Regions from separate parts of the Homo sapiens genome. Here all the other regions are linked to region 2. The links are contacts of gene promoters, found by promoter capture Hi-C in human tissues and cell types (Jung and others, 2019). All regions are on one chromosome and are shown on one strand. Each heading gives the region's core, a stretch centred on a gene start or on the middle of the fragment in contact. The rest is flanking DNA. Distances are from core to core; before and after follow the strand shown.

Evidence for each region. Contacts are between HindIII fragments. The study calls those that stand out against the background at their distance.
Region 1: the fragment with the promoter of GATA2 here is called in contact with a fragment that was not itself captured in region 2 in 1 of the 25 tissues and cell types used here (mesendoderm cells).
Region 3: the fragment with the promoter of DNAJB8 here is called in contact with a fragment that was not itself captured in region 2 in 3 of the 25 tissues and cell types used here (IMR-90 fibroblasts, mesenchymal stem cells and pancreas).

Annotation. Positions count from the first base shown.
Region 1 is chr3:128,491,482-128,495,578 of GRCh38, forward strand. GATA2 (GATA binding protein 2) reads right to left here and starts at 1,720. Exons shown (of 6, transcript NM_032638.5): 1 at 1,418-1,720. All of the region lies in intron 2 of GATA2-AS1 (GATA2 antisense RNA 1), which reads left to right. RefSeq lists a silencer at 1,430-1,519. The HindIII fragment of the contact is 13,259 bases long and covers 1-3,792 here.
Region 2 is chr3:128,270,821-128,275,382 of GRCh38, forward strand. The region is part of intron 4 of EEFSEC (eukaryotic elongation factor, selenocysteine-tRNA specific); the gene reads left to right. Among named protein-coding and RNA genes, the nearest start is that of EEFSEC, 120 kb to the left of the region's middle. The HindIII fragment of the contact is 5,747 bases long and covers 1-4,562 here.
Region 3 is chr3:128,465,076-128,469,322 of GRCh38, forward strand. It overlaps DNAJB8 (DnaJ heat shock protein family (Hsp40) member B8), which reads right to left and starts at 1,815. Exons shown (of 3, transcript NM_153330.6): 1 at 1,539-1,815; 2 at 201-361. The region is part of intron 2 of DNAJB8-AS1 (DNAJB8 antisense RNA 1); the gene reads left to right. The HindIII fragment of the contact is 25,608 bases long and covers 1-4,247 here.

The DNA.
Region 1 (4,097 bases), core at 470-2,969, 220 kb after region 2:
CCTTAGCAGATGGGTTCAGAAGTTCCCTTAAAGCCGGGGCATTAGATCTCAGGCCAGCAGCCATCCCTCCGGGGGGGTTCCCAAGGGGGGGACTACTGCTATAACGGCCCCTCCTGCTCCTTGAGGTTCAATTCCAGCCCCTTAAAGCAGAAGGCTCCCTCCCTCGGCATCAGTGCAGGCTCTCCCACCTCATTACTGTTCTGTGTCTTTGGGAATCGTAGAGTCTGTGGCCCCCACGTCCTAGGTGTCTCGGCACCCTGGACCCAGGCGCCTCCGAGATTCTATATCGCTTCTGACCCCTACCTTCAAGCCTGGCAGGCTCCCCGCGGAACCCTGCTGAGACCCGGAGACAATCGGGCCGTGCTTCTCCCTCCTCCACGAACAGCCACGGTTTATTTGGAGCGGCCGGGGCCGGCGGCCTGACAACTGGTAAATCCGTTTCGTTAGGCACAATTTGTCTGCAATTTGTCAGCCCGGCTGGGAAACGCTCCCCAGACGCCTCGGCTGCCGCACGGGCCCTACCTGGTTCTCGAATCCTGCCTGCTCATAAACGAATCCTAGCACGGGGTGCCTGCGTAGACCTGGAGCTCACCACCAGATGTTCCCGACCTCGGGAGAGGAGGCTTTTTCCAAAACAACGAATTTCCTTCCTTGTTTTCCGGTAAAGGAGCGTTCGCCACACACGGGGTCCCTGAACGCGGGGCCTTTCCCCTCGTGGTTGGAGCAACGCGGAGTTCAAGCCTGGCCGCCACAGAATAATTTTAAATGCCCCGTTTTCAGACAGATCCAGAACGCCGTCTACGCCTACCGGCGGCAGATCTTCAAGCCCGCGGCGGCCCCATTCTTATTGAAATCCCACTAAACGGATTCCGACTCCGGCTTGGGGCGGGGGGAGACTTCCAGACCCGGCGCTCTCCCCCACACGCACCCCAGTCACACAGGATAAAGGGCTGCGGGGCGCAGCGCGCGGGGGCGCAAGCAGGAGCGAGCTGGGTTAAGCCGCGAAAAGCCGGCGCACGGGACCAGCCGGCAGGTGCAGCCGCCGCTCGGCGGCCCGGCTCGGACGCATCCGCCGCGGTGGCCTGGGGATTGGGGGCGGCCGAGACAAAGGCCCCAGTTCGGGGGCCGGGAGGCGGGGGTGCTTTGCGAGGCTCTGGGAATGCCAGGGTCTCGTGGCCTGTGGCTCCGAGAAATGGGAAGACAAGAGGCCCGAGGCGGGCCTGCTGTGCCCAGGTAACCAAATACTCCCTCTGGTTAAAGTCCCTATAACCAGGGTTTCCGGTCTCTGGCAGGGCCAAGGCGAGCCCCAAAGGTAGGGGCCACAGGGCAAACGGACCAAGCGATTCGGGTGCCAGGCGGGCCGGGCCGGGGGCGGGAAGGGCCGGGCCCAGGGAAGGTGGAAGTGGAAGAAACTCACCGAGCGAGGCGCGGTGGGCGGCGCCCCCGGGCGGACGGGGCCTGGAGTAGAGCTGGGAGCAGGGCGAGGTGCGCGGCAGGCGGGCTCGCGGGACCTGGGCGCGGGGTGGCGGCGCTCACCAGCAGAGCCTGGGCGGCACGCCGAGCGGCCGCATGGTGTTCAGCGGACCGCTTTTGTCCGCCTGGTGGGCGACGGGGCCCTGCTAGGATGGATGTGGCGGCAGGCAATAGACAGACTTGAGCAGCGAGTCCCGGGGCGACGCTGGCCTCGCTACCTTCCTGGCGCTCACGCTGCCTCTCTCTCCCCCACCGGCCGCAACGCGGCTTTTTATTTCGACATCACTTTGCGGGGGGGCAGGGGGTGGCGACGGGGGCGGGAGCGCCGCAGGGGGCAGGAGGGTACCCGGGGCTCTGCACCCGGCCTACCAGGTCCAGCCGCCTGGCCGGCCAAGGGCCGCTAGGCACTCAGGGCGCGCACACCCTGTGCATCCACACTCCAGGCCGCTCCCACCCTCTCCGGAGCGCACACGCGCGCCCCTGACCTCAGGGATGCTTGCTCAGAAAGCTTGGGACACGTCTTTACTGAGACTCTCCCCGGGGACCCTCAGGAGCTGTGAGCACACGCACTCACTGATAATGGTACACAGACGCCCGCTCCTCTGTCTTCAACCCACTTCCAGGAGTGCTCACACGGACACGCACACATCCCTGCACATGTGCACACAGCTGTGGCCGCGAGGACATCCTCAGACAGACGGCCTGGGTCACACCGACACACATGGCCATACAATCAGATGCAACTCGGCACTCGGGCTCACACTCAGGACGCCCTCACTGCCAGGCTTGTTTAGCTAAGTGCAGGCGCAGCCCCTCTCCCTGTCCCACCCCCCCTCCAGTTCCTAACGCTGGGGGACCCCCTGAGCACTTTAGAAGTCCACTGTCTGGTGTCCCCCTGGCCCATCTCCTTGGGGCAGACTCTCACAATGGGGGAAGCAAGGAAGTGTGCAGAGGGCTTGTTCACAGAAGTGGGAGTCAGGAGGGGGGGAGAAAGTGAGTGTGGGAGTCCTCATCCCCAGAAGGCCCCTGGGTTTGTGGGCAAAGACAGTCCAGTCCTTGTGCTGCCAAAGTTCTTACTAAGGGATTCAACCAGTCAGCGTCCCCCCACCCCCACCCCTGATTCCCATTCCAGCAGATCAGGGAGAGTGAAAGTGGCCTGGGGACCTTGAGCCCAGAGGGAAAGTGCTTGGGCTTGGAAGGACTGGGAAATCTGTGCTCCCGTGCCCAGGTGTGCCCCAGAGGAGTGTTTCTGTCCCCTGGTCTTTGTGACCCCTGCTGTCCATAGGTCTTTCTCCAAATCTGGTGGTGACTATTGCATTGTGTGTGTGTTCTATGCATGTGGCTCAGAGTCTATGTCCTGTGTGCCCAGGTGTGTCTGTGTGCACTTAGGAGCACACAGGAGTGTCTGCAAAACTGGGTGTATGAGTATGTTCATTTCTTCTTGTGGGTTCCTGAGAGTTTGTGTATTGGGCAGTAGGTCACAGTGTGGCTATTTCATGACCCTGGAATTTGGCACAAGAGAGTGTGTCTGTGGAAATGGTTGTGCGTCCCTTTGGCTCTGTGTCTGTGGGGTCATCATGTCAGAGACTCATGTAATGAGGGGTGGGGATTTCCAGGTGTTTGCCCATGTGTCTGTAGCAGTGTGTGGCATGTCTATGAATGGGTGTGTTTTGGAGTGTGTGTTTGCGTGTGTATGTGCATGTATCTAGGCATGTGTTACTGTGTGTATTTTTGTTGTTGTTGTTGTTTTGTTTTGTTTTGTTTCTTGAGACAGGGTCTTGATCTGTTACCCAGACTGAAGTGCAGCGGTTCAATCAGCGCTTACTGCAGCCTCAACCTCCCAGACTCAAGCCATCCTCCCACCTCAGCCTCCTGAGTATCTGGGACCACAGGCATGTGCCACCGTGCCTGGCTAATTATTTTTATTTTTATTTTTGTGGAAACACAGTCTCACTATGTTGCCCAGACTGGTCCCAAACTCCTGGACTAAAGCAATCCTCCCACCTCGGCCTCCCAAAGTCCTGGGATTATAGGCGTGAGCTACTGCGCCTAGCCTGTGTGTGTCTTTAATAGTTTGTACCTGGGTATCTGCATGTGTCCTTGAACTGGTGTATGTGTAGGTGTGTGTGTGTGGTGTGTTGCATGTGTCTGGATATCCATGTATAATTCTCTTTATTAATTGATGGCTGTTGGGGCGTGTGTTTGTGTTTGTGTATTTGAACATGCATTTGGCTATGTGCATGTCCATCTGTCTTTAACAGCATAGGTATCAGTGTATATCATTGTATCTTTGAACTGATGGTGGGGAGGAGGAGATGTATCCGAGTGTGTCTGCATGTCTACGTACAGCTCCATGTATGAATTGATGTGTGTTGCGGTGGGTGTTTGTGTCTGCGTATCTGGGTTGTGGGCAACTGTGTATATGACTACATCTTTGAAATGCATGTTTCTGTGGCCAGCAGTGCCCTGTTCTGTGGACTGTAGAAAAGTGTGTCCTGGGTGACACGCGGGGTGTGCATCCTGCAGGATCACACACCATCCAGACCTTCCTTAACCAGCAGGGCAGGCCGCCAGTGGAGCTCTAGGGTACCATTTGCTCGGGCACTTTCTGTCTGTCTGTGGGA
Region 2 (4,562 bases), core at 1,120-3,619:
CACAGCTCAGGGCTCACATCCTTTGGGTAGAGGTGTGCCCCGTCCTCTGTGCTGCCTGCTGCTTGTATTTGTCTTTGTGCCTGCATCTCCTGTGGACCCTGGTCTCCCTGGGGGCAGAAGCTGAGTCTCCTCCATCTTTGTATTCTCGGCATCCATCCTGGGCTCGGCCCAGAAAATATTTGGTGAAAGGAATAATAGGAAAAAGCCAATAAAGGAAATAAACAAGTTGTTTTTCAGTAGGATTTTGATTGGAAATAGGTAATGAGTGACCTGAGAGGGCTGTGTTTGGAGTCACTGCCACCCTGGGGCCATTTACAGAAACCCAGAGCTGGGCAGCCCCCCACTTCCTGCTGGGGCTGTGCCCCTGTCTTCAAGGCTGCATCCTGATGCTCCATCAGTAAGCAGCAGTGGAGATGCTCCCTGTGTCCCTGTGCTGCCTCATTCTGGGAGCAGTGACTGTGAATCAGGTGCCCGAGGCTGCAGAGCTGGCTTTCCAACACCTGTGGATATCGGCTCTCAAGGCTGAGCTCCCTCTGCTGCCATGTGTTTTTATCTAGAAAATATTGAGTGACCTTCATCCTGAACTATTTTCTGTTCCAGAAGATACATAAAGGAAGGCAGTTTCTGTGCATTTGATGTTTCATGGTTGTCTGGCTTTTGGCAGTGGAAGCTTACGGGATTCTGCTCTCTGTGCCCATGTGTGGTGCACCAGATGCACAGGGTTGGAGCTCCCTGGGAAGGAGAGAAGGCAGAGAAGGAAACCAGGAAGGTTTTGGGAAAGCCAGAGGAAGCCATGCTAGGCCCTTTGAGCAGATCAGCCCACCCTTGGTTGTCGCCCTCAGGAGGGACCTCGCAGATCAGGCCCTTCCTCTGCAGCACCATGGCCACTGCTCAGGTTCAAACTCCCGGGCCCTGCAGGGCCGCTTCTGTGGCATGCTGCTCCTCCCCTTGCCTCCCAGGTCTTCTTCTTGAGTCCAGCCCAGCCCTGCTGACAGAAAAGCCTTATTGCTGTCCTGCTCATCTGTCTGTGGGTCCTCATTGTCTCCAGGATAAAATCTAAAGTGCATGGCACGGAAGGCAGAGCATAGCTCTTCATTATCACCTCTCCAGCCTCAGTTTCTTGTCTTAAAGCCTCATAAGACCTCCCACTGCTCTCTGTGTATCAGGCAGTACTCTGGTTTCAAAGGACAGAAACCCAACTTCAATTGCCTTAAGCAGGATAGGAAACAGATAGGCTCAGGGCTGGAGACGTCTGGATGTCATCAGGAGTGCTGGCTGGCTCCAGAACTGGCTCTGCCCTGTCGTGTGTGGGCCACACACTCAGGTGGCACCTTCCCTGGCATAATCCCCACAGCTCTGGCTTTCCATTTTCTCCTTCAAATCCAAGATGCAGTGCTACTTGTGGTTGACTCCTGAACATCACGCTATCGAAGGATCCGTCCTGACAGTGGAACACCCCTCCCCTGGCAGCGGCTTGTTACCTGACTCTGGCCAATGATATGTGAAGGGACATGTCCTAGGGGTTTGGGGAAAAGCTTTTCTGCTTTTTGGAACTCAACAGGAAAAGACAGCTTTTCTCCTTCACTGGACATTGAAGGGAGGAAGGATGTGACGCCTGGACTCAGGGGCTGAACGGCCACCTTACTCCCAGGCTGGAGGTTTGCAGAGGCTGGGAGGCAGGAGAGTTGCCCAGAAGCAGAGCCTGCACCTGAGGGCTGCTGTGTGTCTGCCCCGCCTCAGAACTTCGTGTATTGTGAGAGCTCTGTCTCCACACGGTTCCAGTCAGGGCTATCTGTTACTTTTGGACCAAAGTATCATTTATGATATGAGAGCAAAATGGCATCTCTTTCCTAGCTGTTAGGAACACAATTAAGGAACAGGCTGCTCCTGGCCTGGTTGGACGGGAGCTCATCCCTGTGGATGAGTACAGTGCTCTAATTGGGCTGGCTGGGTTACATGTCCACCCCTGGAGCTGGAAGGGACAAGGTGGGAGGGATGGTTCACTAAGAAATTTGGGTTACTCCTAGGAAATGCAGAATAGACATCAGGCAGGCAAAACTGAGAGGTATCCACTGGCTTGGTGCTTCCCAGTGTCCACACCATCACAGCTCAGGTGCTGGACACAGATGGACTATGTTTGAGTCCTGCCCCATCACTCACGGGGCAGTTACCTCCCCTGGCTTCCTCCAGAGGTTGTCATGAGGATTTGACAAGAGCCACGTAGCGTGCTTGCAGCAGGGCTTGACGTAAGCCTCACTGTCTTTATCACCACCCTGTACAACTCTGCATCTTGTCTTTTCTTTAATGGGCCTTTTTACTTGGCCCATGGAGTGCAGAGACTTGGGGTGGGGTGGTCTGAGCTCTGCATTTCCTGCCTGCACCCAGGACCCCAAGAGCCTCTGTGAGGTCTTGCCTTTCTCCTGGCTTGAGGATTTGAATCACACCTGCAGCCAAGTTGTAATATCCTGTTGTCTCCCTAAGGAGGCACAGCTGAGGAAGGACAGTCGCCAGGCAAAGATGGAAGGTTGACCTCACAGGAGGCAGGGAACTCAGGAAGACTTCTCTCTGCAGGTGCTGTTGTCAGAGATCAATGCTCAGTGTCCTAAAGCTCTGGCAGGTTGGAGGATGCTGCCCCTGCAGGCCTTTTTCCTGTGGAAGCTTGGAGCTTGTTCTTAACCCCCAAACCCCAAGTGAATGGCATGCCCTTTTCCATCAGGCCCCTGAGAATCTGTTGCAGCTAGACGAACTGCTACCAGCATGTGCTTCCAGAAGCGGATGACTGGCTGGAGTCCTGACCTGCAGTCAGCTGTCCAGGCAGAGGGTACAGCCAGGTTCTTGTGCTGAGAGCGGCCTGGACCTGTGACAGTGGGTCTGTCTGCGCTCCTGATAGGCCTAAGCATTTCACACAGTCTTCTGCAAGGATGGCACTGGGTGGCCCAGGCATGGTTGGAGCAGGGGAGAAATGGTGGCTTTAACCCAAGTGGTGTCTTCCTAAGGAAGGGGACAGGCAGGAGTGGTGCTGCCCCACTGCTGAGGTGGGCCCCCTTTATAGAGATGCCAGCTCAGTCTGGTCGTGCTTGGTGTGTTTCAAGCCTGGTGTAAGCATCTAGAGTCCCACTTGGGCCCAGGTTGACCTGCAGCCTCCCAACCCTTTGATGGGGCTCTAGTGCCCAAGACCACAAATCAAGCCCTGCCCCAGCCCAACCAGGCTCCTCAACTGCAGCTTCCTGCTCTTAGGCCAGGTGGATGTCTTAGGATTCAGCCTCTCCCCTGCTCACCCCAAAGCCTGAGTGCAGCCACCACTCAAGCATACCCTGCCCTTTCCAGCTGAGGGGCAGTGTTACAAAGAAGTGACAGCAGGGCTTCGAGAGCAACTGGGCTTGGGTTTGTACCTATGTGCTGGCCCTGTGAGCTCAAGTGAGTTCCCTGAGTACACTGAGCTTCAGCGTCCTTGTCTATCAGTGGGGTTGACCATGCTGCCTTCCTCCGAGTCGCAGCAAAGAGGAGGAGGAAAGGGGCAAGCTGCTCTAGAGCACGCACGCATGTGGGCGCAGTCACCACAGGAAGCCTCAGCCCCTGCACCCTCTACATGGAGCCCTGGCAGTCAGGCAGCACTCAGTGGTTGCTGGGGGAGCAGATGTGGAGGTGCCAAATGTGGCGCGGGTAGGGAGTGTGGCTGGCCTCTGGACATCCCCTGTAGAAGCCACATGTTGAGGGAGCCTAGGTCGGTGTGGGCCCTGGCCCAGGGTGGCCTTGGGACACTCCCAGGGCAGCTGTAGCACCCTACAAGTTGTCGTATGAAAACCACTCTAACTTATACGTGCTTTTGGGTGGAATTAAATGAGTTTTATTGTTTCTAGGACAAGATAGGGATTTGATTAGAAACAACATTTATGGAATGCCAGGGCTGGTTCCCATCCACTGTGCCCTGCAGGAACACAGAGTCTTGGGTCCCAGGCATAAACGGCCAGCTGTGTGACTGGGGCAAGACACGCCCCTCTGTATGGCCAGGCCACCTTCTTAAATAAGTAAGAACAGCCTTCAGGTGGGAATGGTTCTTCCCAAGGGCCATTTGCTTTCACAATCTTGTTTACCTTCAGTGGTCAGTTAAGTTTCAAGGGGAAACTGTGACTCAGGCCAGTGGAATTGTCAGATGCAGAAGCAAGGGGTGAGATGGATGCGGGCTTGCTGGGCTTACCGAAACTTGTATGCCTGTAGGCCTCTGGGGGTGCAGTCATTTCCTCCCTCTAGCTGTGGGCTGCGGTGCCTTTGGAATAGGATGCGCATGTCATCGAGGGGTCTAGCAGTGACCTGAGGACTGGCAGGACCTCGATACTGGGGCCCAAAGCGGTTTCCTCTCCTGGGAAATGGGTGCCCAGCCAGTGTCAGAGCCCCAGCTGGGAGTGGCCTTGGTGCAGAAAATGCTGTGTAAATGGCAATTGACAGTGCCAGGTTGTGCCCAATGCAAGCATGGGTGCTGCCTGGTCCACAAAGGAGTATCTGATCTTTGACTGTCTGAAGACCACTGCCTTTCTAGGTTGGAAGCAAGCTCTGATTCAGAT
Region 3 (4,247 bases), core at 565-3,064, 190 kb after region 2:
TTTTCTTTCAGTGCTCATGGGTGCTAGGTTTCAGGCTCCTAGCAGGGGACAGTGTGTGTTCTAACCAATCCCAAATGCCAGGAGGAATGGAGACAGACTGTAGAGACACTTTGTAAACCCAGCCTCCAGTGACCATCGCTGTCCCTCCATGCAGCTTATCAAAAGCACGACTCGCACCCCCATGCTGGGCATCCACCCACCTACACCTGCTGACACATGTGGCTTAGCAGAGGAGTTGAAGAGCAGAACTTCTCCACTGGATGTAGCTACAGATGAACCTGATTCTTTATCTCTGTGGCTGGATTTTTGTCACTATGTCTCGGTTAGCAGTTAGCACCTGCTGTCCCTTGCAGGCTTGTTCCTGGGGCGGGAGAAAGATGCTTGCCCTGCACAGTTCTCCATGATGGCGGTGGCAGTGGGAGAGGCACTGCTGTTGACTGTGTTGCTGGTGGGGAGAGGCACGGTGGGTGTCCATGGAGATGGATAAGGTGTCATTATATAGTAGAGGTGACCATGGGAGCAGTGTTGATGTGGAGGTAATGGTCATGGTGGGTGTGAGGGGGAGAGTAATTATGGGTGATGGTGGAGTTGATCATGATGATGGTGATGCTGGTGGTGACAGCAGCAAGGCTTGTGCTTGAGAGTAATTGATGATGGTAGTGGTGGTGGTGATGGTCATGCCAGAGGAGATGGTAACAGCGAGCCTTTGTTGTGGTTGGCAGTGATGGTGCAGGTATGATGAGGAGGTGATGGGAATGGCTCCTAGTGAGCCATTGGTGTGGTTGGCAGTGGTGACAGTAATGGTGATGATGAAGGTGAAGGTGGTGGAGGTAGCAGAGGTTGTATCTTGTTCGGCTATACCACAGTGACAGCTTCCACCTCTCAGTGGCTCACGACAAACATCTAGTTCCCCCCACTTCACTCACTGGTGCCTACAGGCAGCTGCCAGGGCCCCACCTCCCATAGCTTCTCACTGTGGGTCCCAGGCTGGAGAATCAGCTCTGACCTGCACACCCCTCTCTCATGACAGTGCCACTCAGAGACAGCAGGAACTTGGGCTGCCTCTGAAAGCTTCTGTTGGGCCATGATGTGTGGCAGTCTTGCTGCATCCCATGGTCAAGGCCAGTATCCATGGGGCAAAGAATGTTTCCTTCAGGAAGGTTCTGCAAATCTCAGGGCAATAGGAAGAGAGGCCTGAGATTCCCATGGGGAAGAGGGAGTGAGCAGTTCTCCAACATATGCCAGATGCTCAAGATGGGACTGACAGCGGGGCTGGTAACGATGGCTCTGCTGGGAGCAGTGTTGGTGCTGCTGGTGCCGGGGACACCCGTGGTGGTGATGGGATAGGAGGCAGGAATTGTGCTATTAATGGAGGATGGTGGTGAGGGTGGTTGTGGAAGAGGCAATGGTAGAGGGGGGTGCCGAGGGGTGAGAAGGACACAGTGGTGGACATGCTGGTGTGAGTGCCGATGGCGATGGTGATGGCACTGAGGTGTGGGGCTCTGTATTTTCTGTTGCTAACTTGGCATTACACCAACCTCTTCCATGGTCTCCTTGCATCCTGGAGAAATCTGAGGGATTTTCCAGAATCCCATCACCGGTATAATTCCAGACTAGAGCCTGCCAATACAAGGGATTTGGAGAGTGGAAAAGAGAGGCCGTTGCAGGCAGGTGACAATGGTGAGCTTTGCAACAGCTCGGGGCAATCTTCTGCGAAGACCCTGCTTCTGAGCCACAGGCTGAGGCATGGATGGGGAGCTTCCTGGAATACCGTGAGCTCCTCAGCAGCTCCCAGGCAAGCTCTAGAGAGCCGCTCACCTGGGAGCTGCAGGTGAGCATCTCGATTCCTTGTTCCCTGACCGCTGGTCCCAGACTGTTCAGGGTGCAGCGTGTAGTAAATGTCCTCCTCCTTGGTACACATTTGAGGGCTGTGTACTGTGAGGGTGATGGCGGCTCAGATGAAGGTGGTGGTTGTGATGGAGTTGGGTGTGAGGATAGCAGAGAGAAAGCAGATGGTGACATCAGGAAGGCATTGGAGGGGCAGTGGTGGTGGCAGTGATGATGGTGGCAGTCTAATTAGAGGCAGTGGTGGGTCTGGCTGAGGCAGACCCGGTGGTGGTGATGGTGGTGGTAGTAGAGGGGGCAATGACGGTGGTGATGGCAAAGGCGGTGTGAGTGGTTGATACTGGTGGCAGAGCTGATAAGGTGATGTCACAGATGGGATGGTGGGTGGAGATGGAGGTGGAGGAAGTGTGGTGACAGTGATGTGGTGGTGACACAATGCTGACACGGGTGGAGAGCACCGTGGTGACGGTGACAGAGATGATAGTGATAGTGGGGCTGGTGGCAGTGGTAGAGGAGATGGGGATGGGACGCTGGGGTGTTGATGGTGATGGTGACACTGCTGAGGGTGTTGGTGGCCTGACATTGTAAAGGTGAAGCCTGAAGTTTCCATGACGATGGAATCAGGACAGTGGAGGAGGGGTGGTGAAAACAATGTTAAGAGACAAAGGACCTAGTATGATGAGGCATCCAAGAATCCTGTGGCCGCCTCCCCGTCCTGGCCCTCCCTGCCTTGTTGGAGACCCTGGCTCTGGTCTGCGTTGTACTCCCAGGGGAAATTTCTTCCAGCCACTGCCCTGCTCCAACCCTTGTTCCTGGGATGGGTCTGTGGGAGTCAGCCAGGATGGAGACAGGGCTGGAGACCCCCTCACTGCCGCCCATTCAGGGCTGTCTTAGGGCACACAGAACAGACCACTCGGTAGGACTTACGGGAACAGGTGTGTCACCTGGGAGCAGGTCCCACACCTCACCATCAAGGGCATCCTGAGATGGAGGCCCCTGTGGGGAGCTCCCCATGAAGGGAGCTGTGGACCGTGGAGCCGGGCAGTGTGCAGAGGAGTTTCCCTTCTGCAAAGGGTTCAGGCTAGTCTCCTTCCACGCCAGTTTTTGGGGAGCCAGTGGGGAGCATCAGGGGCTCTGAGGCCTCCATAGGGCCTGCTGGAGGGACAGGGACACACAGGCATGAGCGCACACTTAGGCCCCACACGCTCCACCGTCAATTCTGTCAGGCCACCTCCCCTCTTCAAGCCTCTCTGTCCTCATTCACCAGTGGGTGCTTTTGGGGATTTGCCCTCTCTGGGGAGCCAGCCTAGGCTTCCTGGCCTCAGATGTCCCATGTCCCTCATCTCAGGCCCACCCTAAAGCCAACCCCGAGCCATGGCCAGGGAGAGAAGGACCTTCAGCGACCAAGCGAGGCCCAGAGAGGGCAGGGCACACCGAAGGTCACACAGCAGTACCAGGAAGGTCTCCCCCGGGCGAGCTGATGGAGCCGATTAAGCAGCCAATTGGTATTCGGAGCAGCCAGAGGCCCCTCTCTGTCTCTGTAATTAATGGAGTGGCTTTTTAAAAGGATTCTAATCACCCCCGATCCTATCTGCTTATCACTAGAGTTCCTAATTAGATGATCCTGGCAGTCACTCAGCTAATTCCCTCCAGCCCCCTGCAGGCCTGCCTGGCCTGGGCAGCCCACCCCACCCCCGGCCACCCTGGCCCGGCCAGATGGGCAGTTTGGGGCCTTCTCTCCCCTCAGGGCCCCTGGTCCTCTAACTGCATTAGCTCCAGGATGGATGGGCGACAGCGATGGATGGATGGACGGGCGGCTGGATGGACAGAGTGGCAGGCGAATGAAGGGGCTGAACGGTGGGCAGTCACAGAGTGGATGGGCGGATGGACAGACAGACGGGCCAAGGGGCAGATCCCACAGTGGGGAAGAGCTCAGCCTGTCAGGTGACACAGCCTGGGTTCCAACCCCAGCACTGCCACTCCCCAGCCATGTGTCCTTGGGGAAGTCAATAACCTGGCTGTGCCCCAGTGTCCTCATCTCATCTGTAAAAGGGAAGTAATGATGGTCCCCTCTCACAGGGTTACTGTGAGGAGCTCAGAATGGAGAAGGAGCTGTGTGTGCGTGTGCTGGCATCCTGGCAGTGTCGATAATGGGTGGGCAGAGACAGATGAAAGGGCAGCCTGCCTGGTGAGCCAGTGGAAGCCATGGTAGGCAGACAGGCCCATGGCAGGCTTACATGCAGATTGGTGGCCCATGGGGTGGGAAGGCGGTGGGCTACGCAACCGTAGAAGGGCCAGTGAGCTCACGTCCTCCCCAGTGGTGCCAGGGCGATCTCAGCTCTGCTCTCAGACCTCTTCAGGCAGCCTTCCTGCCCAGTCCTCCAAGCCAGTGATGACAGGTG